Linked DNA regions of Homo sapiens: regions 1, 2 and 4 are each linked to region 3. Evidence: promoter capture Hi-C in human tissues and cell types (Jung and others, 2019). All regions are on one chromosome and are shown on one strand. The core of a region is centred on a gene start or on the middle of the fragment in contact, and the rest is flanking DNA. Distances in the headings are between cores, read along the strand shown.

Evidence for each region. Contacts are between HindIII fragments. The study calls those that stand out against the background at their distance.
Region 1: a contact is called between a fragment that was not itself captured here and the fragment with the promoter of OR1I1 in region 3, in 1 of the 25 tissues and cell types used here (lymphoblastoid cells).
Region 2: the fragment with the promoter of AKAP8L here is called in contact with the fragment with the promoter of OR1I1 in region 3 in 2 of the 25 tissues and cell types used here (IMR-90 fibroblasts and spleen).
Region 4: the fragment with the promoter of AKAP8 here is called in contact with the fragment with the promoter of OR1I1 in region 3 in 5 of the 25 tissues and cell types used here (IMR-90 fibroblasts, aorta, bladder and 2 more).

Annotation. Positions count from the first base shown.
Region 1 is chr19:15,575,139-15,579,825 of GRCh38, reverse strand. It overlaps the pseudogene CYP4F23P. Among named protein-coding and RNA genes, the nearest start is that of CYP4F8, 38 kb to the left of the region's middle. The HindIII fragment of the contact is 3,197 bases long and covers 137-3,333 here.
Region 2 is chr19:15,417,072-15,422,110 of GRCh38, reverse strand. It overlaps AKAP8L (A-kinase anchoring protein 8 like), which reads left to right and starts at 3,123. Exons shown (of 14, transcript NM_014371.4): 1 at 3,123-3,200. The coding sequence starts at 3,188. WIZ (WIZ zinc finger) reads left to right here. Exons shown (of 13, transcript NM_001371589.1): 13 at 1-2,133. The HindIII fragment of the contact is 22,741 bases long and covers 1-5,039 here.
Region 3 is chr19:15,080,261-15,085,049 of GRCh38, reverse strand. It overlaps OR1I1 (olfactory receptor family 1 subfamily I member 1), which reads right to left and starts at 2,839. Exons shown (of 2, transcript NM_001004713.2): 1 at 2,774-2,839. The HindIII fragment of the contact is 16,029 bases long and covers 1-4,789 here.
Region 4 is chr19:15,377,742-15,382,864 of GRCh38, reverse strand. AKAP8 (A-kinase anchoring protein 8) reads left to right here and starts at 3,078. Exons shown (of 14, transcript NM_005858.4): 1 at 3,078-3,152. The coding sequence starts at 3,134. AKAP8L (A-kinase anchoring protein 8 like) reads left to right here. Exons shown (of 14, transcript NM_014371.4): 13 at 2,253-2,348; 14 at 2,435-2,815. The coding sequence ends at 2,743. RefSeq lists silencers at 2,453-2,942, 3,283-3,832 and enhancers at 2,107-3,021, 2,793-3,087, 3,022-3,937. The HindIII fragment of the contact is 19,214 bases long and covers 1-5,123 here.

The DNA of each region.
Region 1 (4,687 bases), core at 486-2,985, 500 kb before region 3:
TATATAATTAACTGGGCCAGGCGTGGTGGCTCACGCCTGGAACCCCAGCATTTTGGGAAGCCGAGTTGGGCGGATCACTTGAGATCAGAAATTTGAGACCAGCCTGGCCAACATGGTGAAACCCTGTCTCTACTAAAAATACAAAAATTAGCCGGGTGTGGTGATGTGCACCTCTAGTCCCAGTTAGTCGGGAGGCTGAGGCAGGAGAATCGCTTGAACCCAGGAGATGGAAGTTACAATGAGCTAAGATCACACCACTGCACTCCAGCCTGGGCGACAGAGCAAGATTCTGTCTCAAAAAAAAAAAATAAAATAAATAAATAAATAAATAAATAAATAAAATTAAGTGGAACAGAATAAAGCCCAAGAAACAGACCCAAATATATAAATAAATTTCACTTATTGTGAATCTGCTGTTATTTAAAATCGTAAGACAAATACAAAATATTCATTAAATTCTGTTGGGGCAACTAGCCATTTGGAGGAAAATGAATACATTCCTACAACAATTCTTATACTATCATAGACTTCATAGAGAAAAAAGTAATAAATATTTTTAAACTAAAATAATAAATAAAATATTTTAAAAACAAATAAACCCATCAGAGGAAAACAAACATGAGTTTTACATTTTAATTTTAGAGCATGAAAGAATGTCCCATGCATGATTTAAAAAAACAAAAACATGGCCAGGCGCAGTGGCTCACGCCTGTAATCCCAGCACTCTGGGAGGCCAAGGTAGGTGGATCACCTGAGGCCTGGCCAACATGGTGAAACCCCATCTCTACTAAAAATACAAAAATTAGCTGGGCATAGTGGTGGACACTTGTAATCCCAGCTACTTGAGAGGCTGAGGAGGAGAATCACTTGAACTCGGGAGGCGGAGGTTGCAGTGAGCTGAGATGGTGCCACTGCTGTCCAGCCTGGGTGACAGAGCAAGACTCTGTCTCAAAAAAAAAATAATAAAAATAATAAAAAAAACAAAAAACGGCACGTATAAAGGAAAGAATTTGACTGCAAATAAATTAATCAAGCCAAAATAAATGAATGAAAACCAACAATTAATTCAAAGACAATCTGAAAAAGAACTTTGCAAAACAGAAAAAAAGAACTAGTTTTCTTAATCTGTGAGCAGTGCTTATAAATCAATAAGAAAAAAACTACAAAACCCAAACTAGAAGGAACAAATTGTGCAAACACTTCACAGAATAAGAAATACCCATGGTCAGTAAGTGAAAACAATGCTCAACTTTACCCAGGCTTAAAGTGATGTTCATTGAAGTATTATGTTGCATCTATCAGATTGGCAAATGTTTTAAAGTTTCATAATAGACACTTTAGGGGAGAATGTGAGGAAGGCATTCTCAAAATGTGTGTGTAGGAGCTATTGAATTGTCAATCTCAAATGGTCTTCAGTTCACCAACTGCACTTCTCAGAATTGGTACTGCAAAGCTGCTCACAGATGTAAGCAATGGTCAGTGTACATGGGTGCCCACTACATCATGTTAGTTATAGCAAAAGCCTGGAAAGCACACAAATATCCATCAATGGAGAAATGTTTTGATGAATTACAGTACATCCTTATGAGAGAACACTATGCAGCTATCAAAAAGGAGGAAACAAAGAGAACTAGTTCTACAACACACTGGAGAGTTAATCAGTGCAGAGACTCTAAAAGGCAATTCGGCAATATCTATTAGAACTGAATAGGTTTGGCCAGGCGCTGTGGCTCACACCTGTAATCCCAGCACTTTGGTAGGCTGAGGTAGGCGAATCCCCTGAGGTCTGGAGTTCGAGACCAGCCTGGCCAACATGGTGAAACCCCGTCTCTATTAAAAATACAAAAATTAGCTGGGCATAGTGGCGGATGCCTGCAATCACAGGTCCTCAGGAAGCTGAGGCAGGAGAATCACCTGAACTCAGGAGGCAGAGGTTGCAGTGAGCAGAGATTATGCCACTGCACTCCAGCCTGGATGACACAGTGAGACTGTCTCAAAAAAAAAAAAAAAGAAAAGAAAAAAGAAAGAAGTAACAAAAAAGAAAAAATAATTGAATGAGTTTAATTGCAATAGATAGTAAAGGCAAAAATCCTGCAACATTTCCTTTGCTCCAGGCTGAGTACCAGGCCCTGTTTCTGAGCTCTGCACCAATTCCCACTAGGCAGTAATAGCACAATCACCAATAAGACCTTCTCCCTTTCCCACCTGAAGAGCTAAACCAATGAGAGGGACTCAGGAACAGGTCATGAGGACCTGCACACTCACCATTCAATCTCTTTAGGATCACCGTTCTTCAGGAGCTCTTGCACCTCCTGTCGGCAGTGCTCCTGGTATTCTGGGTACCTCGCGAGGTTGTACAGGACCCAGGAGAGACCACTGGCCGAGGTGTCATGGCCTGAGGGGCAGCCAGGTAAGCTTGGGTCTCTGGGCTGCTTCAGCACCCAAGGGTGGACAGCACCCATGTATTGAGGCCCTCAGAAGGAAGTGGGGAAGGAAGATGGGATGGGGTGATCCAGGGTCCACTCACCACATCCCTGGAATGGAGACACTCCTACCCCTAGTGACATCACACCCTGGGACCCTCACCCCCAGACATGAAGGTGTCAGCCTCCGCTCTTATGTTCTCATCTGACAACTTCTTTCCATTTTCATCCTGGAGACAAGACAAGACCTCTAAATTACACCAGCCATGAAGGCACCTGAGTCTAACCTAAAACAGTTCATGAAGATCCATATTCCAGGCAAGATTCCTCCCTTATCATCATTAGACCTGCCTAGCAGGACTCTTTCCCAGTCTCTTGCCTCCTGTTTGCTCCTTCTAGGAACTCTTCTACAGAGTCACCTCTAAAATATATCTTACTTGTCCCTCCTTTCCTCAAGCACCTTCCATGGCTCCCCAGTGCCCTCTGGATCAAGTCCAAGTTCATGGATCTGACATTTCACGTCAAAGTCCATTCTACTTCTGAAATTCAGATCCCAGAGTAGCCCACCTTGGCCAGCAAGAGCACGTCAATGAAGTCCAAAGTCTTGGACTTGGCCTTGGCCTGCAGGAAGTCATCGACACCCTGGCTAGTGAGGGTGCGACGCCGCTCCTGGATGACAGCATCTGTGAAGTTGTGCACTATGTCACAGGCCCTGCAGAAGCGTCGCCCATTGGGAGTGAGGAAGTACAAGAAGTCCGTGAGCAGGAAGATGTGCTGGTGCCGTTTCAGACTGAGGGCACTGAGCTCCAAGATGGCATCAATATATTCGCTGGGCTTCCCGCAGGGTCAGGCCAGGAAGAGGAAGCAGCTTCTAAACACACATGAAAGCCTGGGAGCACCTTCTAGCCAGAATCCCAGGACCACGTTCGGTGCAGAAAAGGGTGCCCTGCAAGCACACTTCACTCTCTGCCTCCCACTCTCTGTGAGCTGCCTCCTGCCCCAGATGCCCCAGGGCACAGCTTGGCCATCATGGGCATCTTACACAACATCTGCTCCTGCCTATTTCTCCTTGGTTTCTCTCAAATCTGCCCCTTTTTCTCCACCAAGCTCAGGCCTCTTCCTCTCCATGGTCTCCTTGCTTCCTCTGTCTACATAACAGTCAATCTTCCACAGAGTCAAACGTCCAAGCTCAGCACTGACCATGACCCTCATCTTCTCAAATACCTCCCATGATTCCCTGGGAGCCTTGGATGAAGTTCATACCCCTTTGCATGGCTTTTCAATGTCATTAAGTTGTAGCTACTGCTGACCCCTCCAATCTCATTTCCAAGGTGTCCCCTTGATGGCCATTGCACGTGCTCTGCTCATCCTAGCCTCCTTGCCATTACCCAAACACTTCTACCTACCTGGAGAACTGATCTTTCTCTCTCCCCTTCCCTGTACTTCCATGCTCAATTCTGACTCATTTTCTCCAAGAAGACACTTCAGATGCCCTGATCAGTCCTCTCTCCATAACCTACTCCTGTGGGTCCATGGCCAAGATCCCAGGTCCTGGGGAAGAACTCACTCCTGACAATTGCTGTCAAAGCTGAAGATGCATTTCTGCAGACTGTCCAAGGTCATGAGGCTGATGTGCTCAAACATTTCCAGACGGACACTGCCCTCCAAGGCCAGGCGTTGCCATTTGGCCTGGCCAGAGAAGGGGACAGAGCAGGAACTGAGCCCTGGCTCCCCTGAGTCCCTTCCCGTCCCCAACCTCCAGGATGGACTCCCCCAGAACCAACTCCTAGTCGTCTTTCCCGGGTACCCATCCCCAAGGAGGACCAAGCTTGTGAGGGACAGAAGCTGTTACTATTAGGACATGAAGGCCCAAGGCTGGGGTTCGGGTGACCTGGGTTCAAGTTCCAGCTCTGCTTCTGTGCCCTATGTACCCTTGGTCAGCCCACTGCCCTCTTTAGGTCCCCCCTGTCAAATCTTCAGTAATAGTTAAGATGATCTGCTTTGGGTCAGGCACAGTGGCTCACACGTGTAATCCCAACACTTTGGAAGGTGAGATGGGCAGATCATGAGTTCAGGAGATTGAGACCATCTGGGCCAACATGGTGAAATCCGTCTCTACCAAAAAATACAAAAAATGGCTGGATGTGATGGCAGGTGCCTGTAATTCCAGCTACTCAGGAGGCTGAGGCAGGAGAATCGCTTGAACCCAGGAAGCGGAGGTTGCAGTGAGCTGAGATCATGCCACTGCACTCCAGCCTGGTGAC
Region 2 (5,039 bases), core at 1,874-4,373, 340 kb before region 3:
TTTCTCTTCTGGAAACACCCTGGGGCAGGCGGCCAGCGTGTGTTTTTCTGTCAAGTGGACAGGCTGGCATTGGCTGGCAGCCGGGGCTGGGATCGGGGCCTCCTCTGTCCAGAGCGCCATGGAGGCCCTGGGTTTTCCAGTTGGCCGCCAAGCCGACCAGACGCAGCTGGGGATGAGCCCAAGTTCCCAGCTGTTGGCTCTTTAGGCCATGGCTGGGAGGGGGTCTCTGGCTGGCTGGCAAAGCGGCTCCAGTGAGCAGATGAACCAGGGTTCTGGGCAGCCTGTCTGGGAAGGGAGCCAGGATCAAGAAGCAGTTGAGGCTAGAGGAGCTTATCAAAGGCAGGAGCTACCAGCGAGGGTGTCAGGGACCCGTTGGGAGCATTTGGGTGGGGGCCAGTGGGGTTGTAGAGAGCTGGAACTCACCTGCTTTTAATACATGTGACTTCTAGTGAGACACATGCACCCCTGACCCAAGGAACATGCGGGGAAAAGAGGAGCCACTGGCTCCTTTGCGATGTTATTTATTTTCTCGCTCTGCAAATGTTTATTGAACATTTCTGAGATTTTAAGAGATTTTGTTGGCTGCTCCTTCTTGTTTATTGCATGTGGTTTTTCAGCTCATCGTTTTTACTAAACGGTCAAGTGCTGGAGAGTGGGAACGACCTCATGGCGTGTGGACAGAAGGGGCCACCTCTACCCCCAGCCCTGCTTTCTGGGCCCTCCCACCATACCCCTTCCTGGGAAGGAGGGATTAACAGGCTGCAATAACGCCCACAAGGGTGGTCTTGGCCCACACGTCTGCTCCTGTGGGGTCAGGACGCACATCTCGCCTGGTGGCAGAAGGCCGCAACCACTTCTCTCCATCCTGTGCTGTGGGTGGGTGGATGTATCCAGGACTTAGGAAGCAGGGAGAGCATCTTGTGAGCTGACTCAAAGGTGTTTCTTCCTCTTTCAACTTTTCATAAGTCAGTTTTTATTTTTTTATTTTATTTTTTGAGACAGGGTCTCATTTTGTTGCCCAAGCTGGAGTGCAGTGTAGGGACCTCGGCTCGCTGCAGTCTCTGCCTCCTGGGTTCAAGTGATTCTCCTGCCTCAGCCATCCAGGTAGCTGGGATCACAGGCATGCACCACCACCCCTGGCTTATATCTGTAATTTTTGTAGAGACGGGGGTTTCACCATGTTGCCCGGGCTGGTCTTGAACTCCTGAGCTCAAGTGATCAGCCTCCCAAAGTGCTGGGATTACAGGCGTGAGCCACTATGCCCGGCCCGTAAGTCAGTTTTTGAAATATAAAAGTGGTATAGGCTAGATGTGACAAAAAACAGTCAAATGATACAAGAGCTTATAAAGTCATATGGCAAGTTCCTCCCCACCAATCATGCAGTGAAGTGAGGGTCATGTGTGTCCTTGGAAGAGTCACCTCCAGTTCTTGCAGGGGGATGTTTTCCTAAAACTTTCTGAGCATTGCTCTTCTCTGCTCAAGCCACTTCAATACACCTCAGGCAGCAAAGTCTCAGCTTTTGAGCCGTGGTCTCTGAGGGTGTTGGATGTGAACGAAATCAAATCGGTACAATGATGACTGTGGCAAGTGCGATGAAGGAACGAACCTGCAGGGCGCAGAAGACGTGTCCTGGGGCCCTGCCTTGGTTTGGAAGACAGGCAGGCATCCCTGAGGCTGATGGGGAGATGAACCCCGAAGCCAGAGTGCTTATCCGTCAGATCTCTGCTTCATGTTTGGAGTTTGCTCACTTAACACATCAGAAGTGGCTTTGTTCCGTATGGCAGCAAGTTCTGCAGAAGCCTCATTTGGGTGGGGGGAGTTTTATTAAAACAGTTTATCATGGAGAATTCCAACTATACAAAAGTAGAGCAAACAGTAAAATGGACTCTCATCTATCCATCACCAACCCATGACCAATGTCTTCAGCTGTCAGAGATTTATCTTATAGCTCCTTGCTTCCTCCTCCTCTCTCTACCTGTCTGAATTGTGTGAAGCACATCCTGGCCATAAGATCAGTTAACTTCTTAGTATTTCAGTATGTTTCTCTCAACGTTGTAAATGCCACTATTACACCTAAAGAAATCAACAATATCAAAAAGAAACAGCATACCTTAAAAAAAGTTTTAAAACACACGAAGCGTAGAAGTCGTAATTGCGCAGCTTAATGAGTTTTCACAAACACACGTGTTAAGTACTCTTCGGTGCAGCTCTGTCATCTCTAGAAATTATGAGTTGTCCCTGGCAGGGTTTCCATATGCCCAGGAAACAGACTGAGGACATGACTGGTGCCCGGCTGCACTATTGCAGGATCTCTCGAGCCCAGAGTGAATCAGGAGGGTTTTAGAAGCAAAGCTCCCATTTTAACACGTAACTGTCAAGGACCTTGAGCAAATCATGAGTTCCAAGCTTCAGTTTTAAGTGAGGATTAAAAGCTTTTTGCAGGTTTGAAGGAGCATTCGAATGACACACAATACAAACGGAATTATTACACATATAAGCATATGCCATATAAATATATTATCGTTTTGTTACGATTAATCACATTTATTCAGTGCACTGGCACCAGAATGATTTCTTTACACACACTTTGTCACGTAATGTTGAAACGTGTGTCCAGCATCTTGTTTGGTGCTGTTTTAATTTTCTCTTCTCAACATGGCTTTGCTATGCTTGTTTTGGAGCCGAAGGCCAGAGAATTTGAGAGACTTAGCTAGGTCCCCTACCCAGCACCTCGGTGGCGGAGTTGGCATCCCAGCCCTGCCCTGAGCCGTAGACCCGACTCCCTCTGGCGGGTCTCCAGGGTACGGGCGCTCCTCCAGCCCGACCATGCTTGGGCCTTGGGCCTTTCCGTAGTGCACAGCTCCGCCCCCTCAAATTCTATAGGACTCCGCCTCTCTGCCGGCTTCTGTAGGCCAATCACTGAGGCCTTAGAATAACAGAAGGCGGGGACAAGGCGGGGCTCTCACGAGATTGCCAGCAGCTTCCAGCCACTGATATGAGGAGGCATAGAGATAGACAGCGGTTCCTTCCAATAGACGTGAAGCCGAGGCCGGTATGAGCCAATGCGGTCGGGAGGCGGGGCTCGGGTGTGTGTGGAGGGGACCCTGTGGTTAGCAGCAGCTATCGCAGCGTCGGATGTTCAGAGCAGCAGAAGCCGGCGTCGTCGGATGTTGTGTTGCCCGCCACCATGAGCTACACAGGTGGGCCTGGCAGGGTGGGGTCGGGCTCTGCGTGGGGGATGGGACAGGGACGTGCGGATGCCGCACCAGGCTTGCCCGCACCTCCCCTGGGGCCCCGTCACTGCCTTCCCTGCGGTCACAAAATGGCGCCGCTGGCCCGTCGCCTCAGGGTCGCTGCCCTCACGCCTCGTTGCCTCAGCTCTCTGTGTCTGCAGCCGGCGTCCCGGCTCCCGGCCGCCTGATGTCTTGGCTTCTGTCGCCTGTGTCCGTGGGTCCGGGCCTCAGCGCACGAGGTCTCCGCCCCCACCACCTCCGTCCCTGGCCTGCGCTCCTGGACCTCGACGCCTTAGGTTTCCCTTTCTCAGGCCTTGGTCCTTGCGAGCAGGCAGCAGGCTCGGCTGCCGTCGCCATTGTCGCGTCCTCCCCCGCGCAGTTTCTCTGCAAAAACGCCGCAGCTCTACACCCCCATCCCGATCCCACCCACCACCCCCTTTTGTCTATTTCAGAACTGGGAAAGGCGCCAGGCCCTAGGGGGATAAGTAAATATTGGAAGGGTTTGGGCTGAGCGGGGAGCCTTGGGCCCCTAGGGGCTGAACTGCAAGGAATGACAAGGTTCCATGTTAATTCCCTCTGCGTCTGTCAAATGAACCGTGTCCGGTACAGACTGGGTATTGGGAATACAGACAAGAATTCCTCAAGCAGCTTAGAGGCGAGGATCTTAATAGGCAAATAAGCGAGTGTAGGATATATTTTAGGGTGGTCAGTACCGTGCGGGGGTCGCTCCACTACGTGGAGTGGTTGGAGCCTTCTGTAAAGAGGTGACATTTGAGCAGAGACCTAAATGGAGGGAGCGAATAAAGATATCTGGCCCAGGGAGCTTTTGCTGTAAAAGGCTTACGGGCAGGAACTGCCTGGCTTGTTAGAAGATCAGCCAGGGAGGCCAGTGGGAGGCCAATGGGATTTGAAAGGGAGAGTGGGTGACAGATCCGAGAGCCCCTCTCCGCCCCCCGCAATATGCTTGGGCGACTGTAAATCATCACTGGGTGAATTGCCAAGGCCTCCTGGGTTTGCCTTGGCAGTGACTGATGAGGCTTCTCGGCCAGGAGACTTACACTAGGCCTCCCTGTTTGGTGAGGGTATTATAGGCTTGAGCGTGTGTGGTTGCCAGGTAACCTGCATTCTACTTGGAATTTTGAGAACTGAGAATGCAACGTGAGTCTGTGGGGCTCCTTTGTAGACCACTTTATGTTGGCATAGGCAAGAAGGTAGTGCCAGTCCCCTCTACCCTGGCTGCCAGGTCAGGAGCTTTCCAAGAACCCCAGTTTTTCTAGCAACCATCCCCCAGCCCAGTGGGTTCTCATCCAGGGGTGATTCTGCCCCAGATGACATCTGGCAATGTCTGGAGACATTTTTGGTTGTCACATATGGGAGTGGGAGTGCTGCTGGTATCTAGTGGATGGAGGTTTGGGATGCTGCCCTGCTACGGTATACACAATGACACCTACCGCAAAGAAGTATCTGGCGTCAAACATCAGTAGTGCCCAAGTTGGGCAGCTCTGCCAGAGCCTTTCTGTAGCTTTCCTAGTTCAGGAGGAAAGACTATGGGGTTGTTACTGACATCCCTGGGATTGGAATATAATTCTCACCAAGTCTTACCAAGAACTGGAAGACAGTTTCATGGTTTTTAAAAACAGGACTCTTGAAGAAACCAGAAGATGAATGGTTGGGTGCTGTGGGGTAGCTGAGTAATGGAGCTCTTTTTTTTAATAGATGAGGAAACTGAGATACAAGGTCACTAATGACCAAACCTGAATTCCAGCTCTAGGTCTTGTAGGCTGTAGTTCTGGGTTTGGGTGGGCA
Region 3 (4,789 bases), core at 1,590-4,089:
ACGTTAGCCTACAGTTAGGCAAAATTATCTAATACAAGATCTATTTAATTTAATTTAATTTATTTTGAGACAGGGTCTCACTCTGTCACCCAGGCTGCAGTGCGGTGGCACAATCACAGCTCACTGCAGCCTGTACCTCCTGAGCTCAGGTGTTCCTCCCACCTCAGCCTTCCTAGTAGCTGGGACAGGTGTTTTTATTTTGCCCTCAGCAATAATGATATCTGTAATGGGTTAAACCTTCTTAGGAGCCAGTTTCTTTCTTTTTTTTTCCCCCAGCTATTGGCTGCTCAGCATGATTTTTATTTTATTTAATTTTATCATTTTATTTTAAGTTCCAGGATACACGTGCAGGACGTGCAGGTTTGTTACATAGGTAAACGTGTGCCATAGTGGTTTGCTGCACCTATCAAGCCATCACCTCGGTATTAAGCCCAGCATGCATTAGCTATTTATCCTGATGAGGAGCCGGTTTCTTTCTTTCTTTTCTTTTTTGAGATGGAGTCTTACTCTGTCACCCAAGCTGGAGTGCAGTGGCGCGATCTTGGCTCACTGCAACCCCCGCCTCCTGGGTTCAAAAGATTCTCCTGCCTCAGCCTCCTGAGTAGCTGGGATGACAGGCGAGCACCACCACGCATGGCTAATTTTTGTATTTTTAGTAGAGATGGGGTTTCACCATGTTTGTCAGACTGGTCTTGAACTCCTGACCTCATCATCTGCCCGGCTTGATCTCTCAAAGTGCTGGGATTACAGGCGTGAGCCACTGCAGCCAGCCAGGAGCCAGTTTCTTAATGCATAGGTCTTACAATAACTCCCACAGGGAGATTGTGTTAGCTACAATTTACAGTGAGCAGACTGGGGCTGAGCGAGCTGCCAGGGGCACTCAGCTTGCAAGTGCCTGATCTCGCCTTTGAATTTAGACTTATTTTCACTCTCATACTCCACTGCCTCCCTAAGAATGGCCACTCTCACCTCTTTATGAGGCATTTCGAAGCTAAATTCTGTGCTGTCAACACGTGCAAGGGAAAAATATTCAATTACAAGCATTTACACGTGTTTCTTTTCGAGACAGAGTCTCACTCTGTCACCTAGGCTAGAGTACAGTGGCACGATCTCGGCTCACTGCAACATCCGTCTCCTGGGTTCAAGTGATTCTTGTGCCTCAGCCACCCGAATAGCTGGGATTACAGGTGTGCATCACCACGCCCGATTAATTTTTGTATTTTTAGTAGAGACGGGGTTTCGCCTCTACTAAGCCTGTTGGCCAGGCTGGTCTTGAACTCCTGACCCGGTGATCCGCCCACCTTGGCCTCCCAAAGTACTGAGATTACAGGCGTGAGCCCAGTAATCTCATCATTTCAGCGCCCAGCCGATGAAAGGGGTTTTTAGGAAGGTTAGCAGCATAATCTCCTTGGTAACCCCAAGAGGCCTTCAGCAAAGCCCTATGTTAACTTTTTGAGGCTTTTTAGTGTTGGACTTGAGGTTTTTGCAATGCAATGCTTGGTTTTCTCTAGGCTGGATAGAATACTGCGATTCCCTTCCTGGCAACATATTTGTAACAGTCCTCAGTTGTTGACTTGGGTTGCATAGAGCAGCGGTTCTCAACCTTGAGCACGCTTCAGGGTCACCTGGAAGGCTTGTTAAAACACAAAAAGCGGGCCAGGCATGGTGGCTCACACCTGTAATCCCAGCACTTTGGGAGGCTGAAGTGGGAGAATTGCTTGAGGCCAGGAGTTCAAGACCAGCCTGGCAGACAAAGTGAGGCCACCCCACCCCCAATCCCGCCCTGGATCTACAAAAAATAAAACAATCTGCTGGGCATGGTGGCATGCTTCCATAGTCCCAGCTACTCAGAAGGCTGAGGTGGGAGAATCCCTTGAGTCCAGGAGTTAGAGACCAACCTGGGCAACACAGTGAGACCCCCATCTCTACAAAATAAAAAATTAGCTGGACATGGTGGCACACACCTGTTAGTCCCAGCTGCTTGGGGGGCCAAGGTAGGAGGATCTCTTGAGCCCGGGAGTGTGAGACCATCCTGGGCAACATAGGAAGATCCCTGCCTCTACGAAAATAAAATTAGCCAGGCATGGTGGTATATGTCTGTTATCCCAGGTACCCGGGAGGCTGAGGAGGGAGGATCACTTGAGCTTGGGAGGTCGAGGCTGCGATGAGCTATGATAATGCCACTGCACTCCAGACTGGGCAACAGAGCGAGACCCTGTCTCAAAAACAGAAAGAACAAACAAACAAACAAAACAATCCCCCCGCCCCCTCCCCCCCGCTCCCAAACTCATCATACACAAAAAGCTAAGCCCTTTCCCTGAAATGTCTGGTGTAAGAACCAGCACTTCTAGATAGTTTCCAGAGGATGCTGGTGCTTCTAGCCCAGGGACCACACTTGGGGAGCTGCTGCATTGGAGAAACTTGTTTCTCAAGACCTCTCCTATCTGTGCAGGTGTCCTGCAGCTGCAGACCCTCAGTGCTTTTCCTCCACATATCCTGCCACAGAGGGTCTGCCGTCTGCGTGCTTTGTCCACTCAGAGAGTCTAGACTTGGTCTCAGTCTCTTCTCTCTCTCTCGGCCTCTAGGAAGGAGACAGATTCCTCTCCCACAACCCTCCACCCCCACCCTCAGCTCAATCCTTTCCCCATCCCTCACCTGCTCACCAGGATGGCATCACCAAGGGGAGGGTCCCGGGAAGCCTCCTTCTCCACCAACTGCTAGAGGATCCCGAGGTCAGCACTAAACCCCTAGGAAGGGCATGGGGGCTACTCACCTGTGATCGCTGGGGTTAGCCTGATGTCTATGGGAAGGATTCATATGTGTACCCCCCCGCCCCCAGACTCTGCAGGTGAGTGGGGGAGCCAGGGGAACATCAGGGTATTTATAGTCTGGGGACTCTAGGAGACTTCGTCCCCATAGCTCCTTGTTAAGGAAGCGGATGCTAATTATTTTGTTTCTCCTCTGCCACATGTGACCTGTTCTTTTGGAGATGGGTGTGCTTTGGGATCATCGAGTGGGTAAGAAGAGGAAACAGTGACTAGGGATTCACTCTCACTAGGACATCTCCCTACGGTCTCCTTCCAGCTCAGGCTGAGCTTCATGGAAGCTCCCAGGCAGAGAGGTCTGGGGGGTCCCAGACTCCAGTCGGGCACTCAGATGCCTGAATCTGAGAGGTCCTTTCATTCATTGCATTATGGAAGAAACTGGCTCATTAAGGAAAGCTCCGAAGAGTATCAATCAATCAATAAATCGGTATTAAATAAATAAATTTATCAAACACTTTTTTTTGAGATGGAGTGTCACTCTTTCACCCAGCCTGGAGCACAGTGGAGCAATCTCGGCTCACTGCAACCTCCACCTCCTGGGTTCTAGCAATTCTCCCTCCTCAGCCTCTTGAGTAGCTGGAATTACTGGTGCCCACCACCATGCCCAGCTAGTCTTTGTATTTTTAGTAGAGACAGGGTTTCACCATGTTGGAAAGACTGATCTCAAACCTCAAGTGATCTGCTCTCCTCGGTCTCCCAAAGTGCTGGGATTACAGGCCTGAGCCACTGTACCCGGCCTATCAAACACTTCTTGATCACCTGCTTGGCACTGGAGTTGGACACGGTGGCTCATGCCTATAATCCTAGCTACTTGGGAGGCCAAGGTTGGAGAATCCCTTGAGCCTAGAAGTTTGAGACCAGCTTGGGCAAAACAGCAAGACCTTATATCTACAAAAAATTTAAAAAAATTAGCCAGGATTGGTGGCACATGCCCGTGGTCTCAGTTACCCAGGAGGCTGAGGTGGGAGGATCACTTGAGCCCTGGAGGTTGAGGCTGCAGTGAGCTGTGATCGCACCACTGCATTCCAACCTGGACAACGGAGTGAGACCCTGTCTCTTAAAAAAAAAATCCTTCCTATCAGCCACACAGAACGTGTGTAGGATACTTGTTGAAATTCTCCTAGGGGCTTTAGTAAATATTAGAATTACTTTCCCTAATAATATTGGCTGTTGGACTGTTGGCTCTTGGATCGTAACTCTGTGGGGAGGTCAGCTTCAAAGCAAGAACAAGGTAGACCAACTTCGCGTTGGACATATGGGGATATGAGTAGGTGCCAATCCCACTGTCATTATTTTTTTAAAATTAAAATTATTTTCAGAGGCTGGGCATGGTGGTTCACACCTGTAATCCTAGCACTTTGGGAGGCCGAGGCAGGTGGATCAATTTAGCTCAGGAGTTTGAGACCAGCCCGGCCAACATGGTGAAACCCTGTCTCTACTAAAAATACAAAATTAGCTGGACGTGCCTATAGTCCCAACTACTCAGGAGGCTGAGGTGGGAGGATCCCTTGAGCCCGGGAGGTGAAGTTTGCAGCAAGTTGAGATCATGCCACTGCACTCCAGCCTGGGTGACAGAGTGAGACCTTGTCTCAAAAAAAAAAAAAAAATCAATTTGAGCCCAAAGGTTGGGGAAAAACCCACCTAAAAAGTCCATAAGGTGGCCAGACATGGTGGCTCACACCTGTAATCCCAGCACTTTGGGAGGCTGAGGCGGGTGGATCACTTGAGGTCGGGAGTTCGAGACCAGCCTGGGAAAAATGGTGAAACCCAGTCTCTACTAAAAGTACAAAAATTAGCTGGGCATGGTGGGTGGGCATCTGTAATCCTAGCTACTTGGGAGGCTGAGGCAGGAGAATCACTTGAACCTGGGAGGCGAAGATTGCAGTGAGCCGAGATTGTGCCACTGCACTCCAGCCTGGGTGACAGAGCAAGACTCCATCTCAAAAAAAAAAAAAAAAAAAAGT
Region 4 (5,123 bases), core at 1,829-4,328, 300 kb before region 3:
ACCTTTTTCTTTAAGAAAAAAGAATTGAGTCTTGCCATGTTGTGCAGGATGGAGTGCAGTGGCTGGTCGCAAGTGAAATCATTGCACACTATAGCCTTGAACTCCTGAACTTGAGCAATCCTCCTGCATCAGCCTCATGAGAGTAGCTGAGACTACAGGCACGAGACACTGTGCCCAGTAAAATCTGACTTTTTCAGCACAGACATGACAAAGTAAATGCTCATTGAAGCATTTCAGATTTTGGGTTTTTGGAGTAGGGATGCTCAACTGGTAAGTATAATGCAAATCAAAATCTGAAAGACTTCTGGTCATAAGCACTTTGAATAAGGGATACTCAATCTGTATCAAATTCTAGAAAATTTGGCTGGGCGTGGTGGCTCACGCCTGTAATCACAGCACTTTGGGAAGCCGAGATGGGTGGAGGTCCTGAGCTCAGGAGCTCAAGACCAGTCTGGGCAACATAGGAAAACCCTGTATCTACTAAAAATACAAAAAAGTAGCTGGGTGTGGTGGTGCGTGCCCGTAGTCCTAGCTACTCAGGAGGCTGAGGCATGAGAATTGCCTAAACCTGGGAGGCGGAGGTTGCAGTGAACTGAGAGCCCCTGCACTCCAGCCTGGGCGACAGAGCGAGACTGTCTTAAAAAAAAAAAAAAAAAATTTAAATGTGAAAAATGAAAACCAAGATCAGAAAATAGTTAGAAAATTATAAACTGTGGGCGGGTGTTCCAGTGTGCTTACCAGAGCACTCACTCGCCGGTGGGCAGGGAAATGCCGTGGGAGGCAGCAGCACAGATTCTTCTGTCTTTTATCCACAGCAAAAATACCCAACAGTGACAACATCCAGTGCTGATGGGCAGGCAGGAGGACCAGGTCATTGTTTTAACACAGGTGGAAGAAGCATGACTTGCAAATGTTCTGCAGTTAATTGGGCACTATCACTTTGAAACCAAACCTGGTTAGAATGAAAAGCACCAGCATGGAAGTGTACAAGTTTATTCTAGTGTTGCTGGGTTATTGTGGAGAAGATCTGGAAGCAACATAAATGTGCCTCACTTGGGAGAATTTATGGTGTGGTTATCTGGGCATCTAGAACCAGGAGGATAAACTGTTGGCAAGTGAGAGTCACTGGGGGAACGGTCTATAGTAGTATCCTAATTGTGTATCTTTAGTTTATTGTGAGCATGTATGATGTCTGTTAATATTTTCCTCCAGTAGTAGAGAAAACGTGCTAAGGAAAAAAAAAAATGAAGATGGAGAGAGTAGAAACAGCAAGTGAGAAGGCTTTCTGAAACATGTAAATGGAGTGGGAAGGACTCAATGGGCTCTCCCACCCCACCAAAAATATCCTTCTTTTACCTTATGGTTTTTATAATGATCAAAGTGAGATTTGCCTGTACTCCCACCATGAGATGGCCCAGCATATTGATGGAAATCCTTCCAGACAAAATGGCTCTGGCATGCTCTGCAGACAGTACTATATTATACACCTTTCTTATGCCAGTGCAGAGATGAGCCCGATTTGAAGGGCTGCATGATGTTCTTTTGAATGTACGATTTATTTAACCTCTTCTGCACTGAGGAACGTTTAGGTGTTTTCCCATTTTTCACCACTACAATCAGTGTGCACGCATGTTTCCAGTTCTTAAATTTAGGATACGTTCTGGGAAGGGATTAATGAGACAGATTTTTACTTTTCATACATTGTGTCAAACTGCTTTCCAAAAAATACGGAAACAGTTGATCCTCCCACCAGCAGAGAAGACTCTCTTCACCCTTGCATGACTGGGAATAATTCTTCATTCTTGGAATTCTGTGGGTTAAAAAAGACGTTTCATTAAATATCTGTTCCTGTTTTTATATCTTCCCCGTTGGCCCCAAAGTGCTCCTTGCCTATTAGCCTAGTTGGCACCTTGTTACAGGTTGCACCCACCTTTGGCTCTTAGTTTCTTAATTGTTCACTGCTTATAGCTTTTTTGTAAGCAAATCAGATTTCTGTAATACAGCCGTAAAGTTAGAGATATATAGATCTGTATTTTTATTTACCTACAGTAAGTGTGGTGTGGAAGGAGAGGGAATTTGAACAAAGATCAGATAGGTTGTGGTTCCATGCTTGTGGAGTGGCCCTCCGTTGGTGGGGCTGGAAGTGCGTGGGTGCAGGGGCGGGGTGGGGTCCCTCTAAGCTGGCAGGGTCGGGGCAGCAACTTGTAGGGCACTCAGAGCAGCCTCTCCAGCTCCTTCTGCCCTGCCCGCAGCTCATGATGGAGCAGTCCAAGAAGTCCTCCCTCATGGTGGCCCGCAGTATTCTCAACAACAAGCTCATCAGCAAGAAGCTGGAGCGCTACCTGAAGGTGAGGCACTGGTCCGGGCCTGCCCTGTCCCCAGCTTAGTCCCCGCCTGTGCTCCCTCCCTTCAGTGTCCGCGCCCCTCCCCACAGGGCGAGAACCCTTTCACCGACAGCCCCGAGGAGGAGAAGGAGCAGGAGGAGGCTGAGGGCGGTGCCCTGGACGAGGGGGCGCAGGGCGAAGCGGCAGGGATCTCGGAGGGCGCAGAGGGCGTGCCGGCGCAGCCTCCCGTGCCCCCAGAGCCAGCCCCCGGGGCCGTGTCGCCGCCACCGCCGCCGCCCCCAGAGGAGGAGGAGGAGGGCGCCGTGCCCTTGCTGGGAGGGGCGCTGCAACGCCAGATCCGCGGCATCCCGGGCCTCGACGTGGAGGACGACGAGGAGGGCGGCGGGGGCGCCCCGTGACCCGAGCTCGGGGCGGGCGGAGCCCGCGTGGCCGAAGCTGGAAACCAAACCTAATAAAGTTTTCCCATCCCACCTCCGGGTTTCTCTGTTACTGTGCCGCGCGGGCGGGGCGGGGTGGGCAGAGGGGCGGGGTGCGCATGCGCGCGGGCCGGGCCGTCGGGCACCGCGGTGGGACCACAACTCCCATTAGGCCACGGAGCTGGATCGTAGCAGCCCGAAAGGCCAGCTGGGACGGCGAGGGCGGGCCCTCGTGAAGACCAGCCAATGGGGGCGCGCGGAAGTAGTGACGTGTGCGCCTGGTCTTCCAGTAGTCGATGGCGGAGGTGCGCTGAACGCATGCGTGCTGTGGTCGCCTAGTAAACGGGGCTGCTGGTGGGCCGCGTCGAAGACATGGACCAGGGCTACGGAGGTTTGTGTTGGCTGCTGGGTGCGGAGCGGGGAGGGAAGGCTCTGTGCGGGCGACGCAGCCGCTGCGCAGACTGCCGCCGGCCGGGCCTTCGTCCCGAGCGTGGTTGCCCCAGCTGGGCCCTCCGGAGAGGCGGCCAGGGCGCGCGCGCGCCGCTCATTGGGCTTTGGCGCCGTCGCTCCCGGGGCTCTGCGTGCGGATTGGCCGCCAGGCCCCGAGGAGGCGGGCGGGACTCGGGGTTGGGGCAGACGCCGCGGTGGGCTTCGTGGGGGCGTCTTAGACAGTGTGGGCCGTTTTTGCCCCTCACCTTCGGCGGAGTCCTTCCGGCCCCCAGCGACCCCGGGGTTTGCACTCCCGGCTTCCTCTTCCGAAGACGCCACAAAATGGCGGCGCTAGGGGGGCGGAGCTACAGCGTGGGGTTGTGAGGTCGGACCCGGGGAGCTGGGTCTGGGGCCGCGGGCGGACCGCGGGGGCCGCCTCTCTCCCGACCTGCCCTAGGCCCGCGGGGCCGTGTAGGGTCTCCGCTGGGCTCACGTGGCCCAGGGCGCCTGTCCCGGAAGCCGTCGGGCTGCGCGGGGTCGGGCCTTTAGTCCCCGGTGCAGCGCGGTGGGGCCGAGTGCTGCCGGCGCGAGAGTCAGCCTCGCCGGGCTCCAGCTCTGTACCCGGCGCGTGCTGGCTTGGGACAGGATGGTGAGGGGCAGATGCTGAGTGTTCGTATAAAGCTGGAAACCTGATGTGCCCTGGGGCTGGTGACATTGGCAGTTCTCCTTTAGGCAGTCTGTTGTGGTGGCCTGGAGGGGCCGAGGGGCTGTGCAGGAGGGAACGTGTCCTTTCCCCACTAGGATTTAGCGCTTGGCCTGCAGTAGGGCCGATCTTCTCGAGCTGCCTGCTCCCTGCTTCTGGAATCAGAGCCTTTTGGGAGCAAAGTTTGCCCACAGGGGATAGTTGGGACATGCTGGGTGGAGCTCGACTGGTTGTAGAGAAGCTAGTGGTCTGATCCTGGCTGCAGGAGCTCGAGAAGTTGTCGATCTTGAGAAGTGGCAGGGCAAAAGTATCCCAGCACCAGAAATTGCAGAGAGAGGTTTCGGTCCTGAGGCGGCAGCGTGCGCGGTGTGCTTTGGTGTCTTCCGGGTCCTAGCGAAGGCTCAGCCTGGCTCTCCTGGTCTTCCGCAGCCTGGGTAGATTTCACCATTCTTTCCCTTCTTTCCCATCAGATCTTTTCTGCAGGTATTGTATTCCTTCTTTTCATTCTTAGTTTGGAGAGGTTTTTTTTACCCCCTCTTCCTACCTGCCGAAAACCTTTCAGACACACTGGAGATAGTTAAGCTTCCCTGATTTCTTGTGTTTCCGGGAGCGTTTTAAGGTTAATAGTGCGTGCCACTTACACTAGAGCTTCACAGAGAAGCAGTCTCTCGAGGTTGGTTACTTGCTGTTGGAATCTGCAGTCTGCCTTTCTGCTGCACGGATGCGAATTTAGAAGGTTTTGCGGTATGACGGAGGGGAAGGCGTAGCATAGCAGAGGGCAAAACTCAGCAGTATGACTGGGTCAAGTCTCGTAACCCATGAGCCTAGCTCCCTTGTCTCTGAATGGCATTCCGGACAACAGGGTTTGCTGGGTGCTTGCGGTGTATCGGCACGCACTAGGCACTTAGCCGGGGGCGGGGGAGTTGTTCTGGTGAGGGAGACATGGATATGTTCCTGCCTCATCAAAGTGAAGTCATTTAACAGGCATGGTGGCCACCCGCGCGCAGCTCAGTGCTGGGCCCCAGGGACACAGAAATAAAGAGAACACAGTTCCCATTCTCCTTCCTGGAGGGACCAGACAGATGCCATAGTGGGCGGGGGGTGTGGAGGGGTGAAGAGTGCTGTCTGATGCCTTAGGGCCAGGCGAAGGCTCTGGGACTTAAAGGTCCAGGGGATCCGTGGAGGCCTTAAAAGTGGCAGGAAGGGCCTGGCGCGGTGACTCACGCCTGT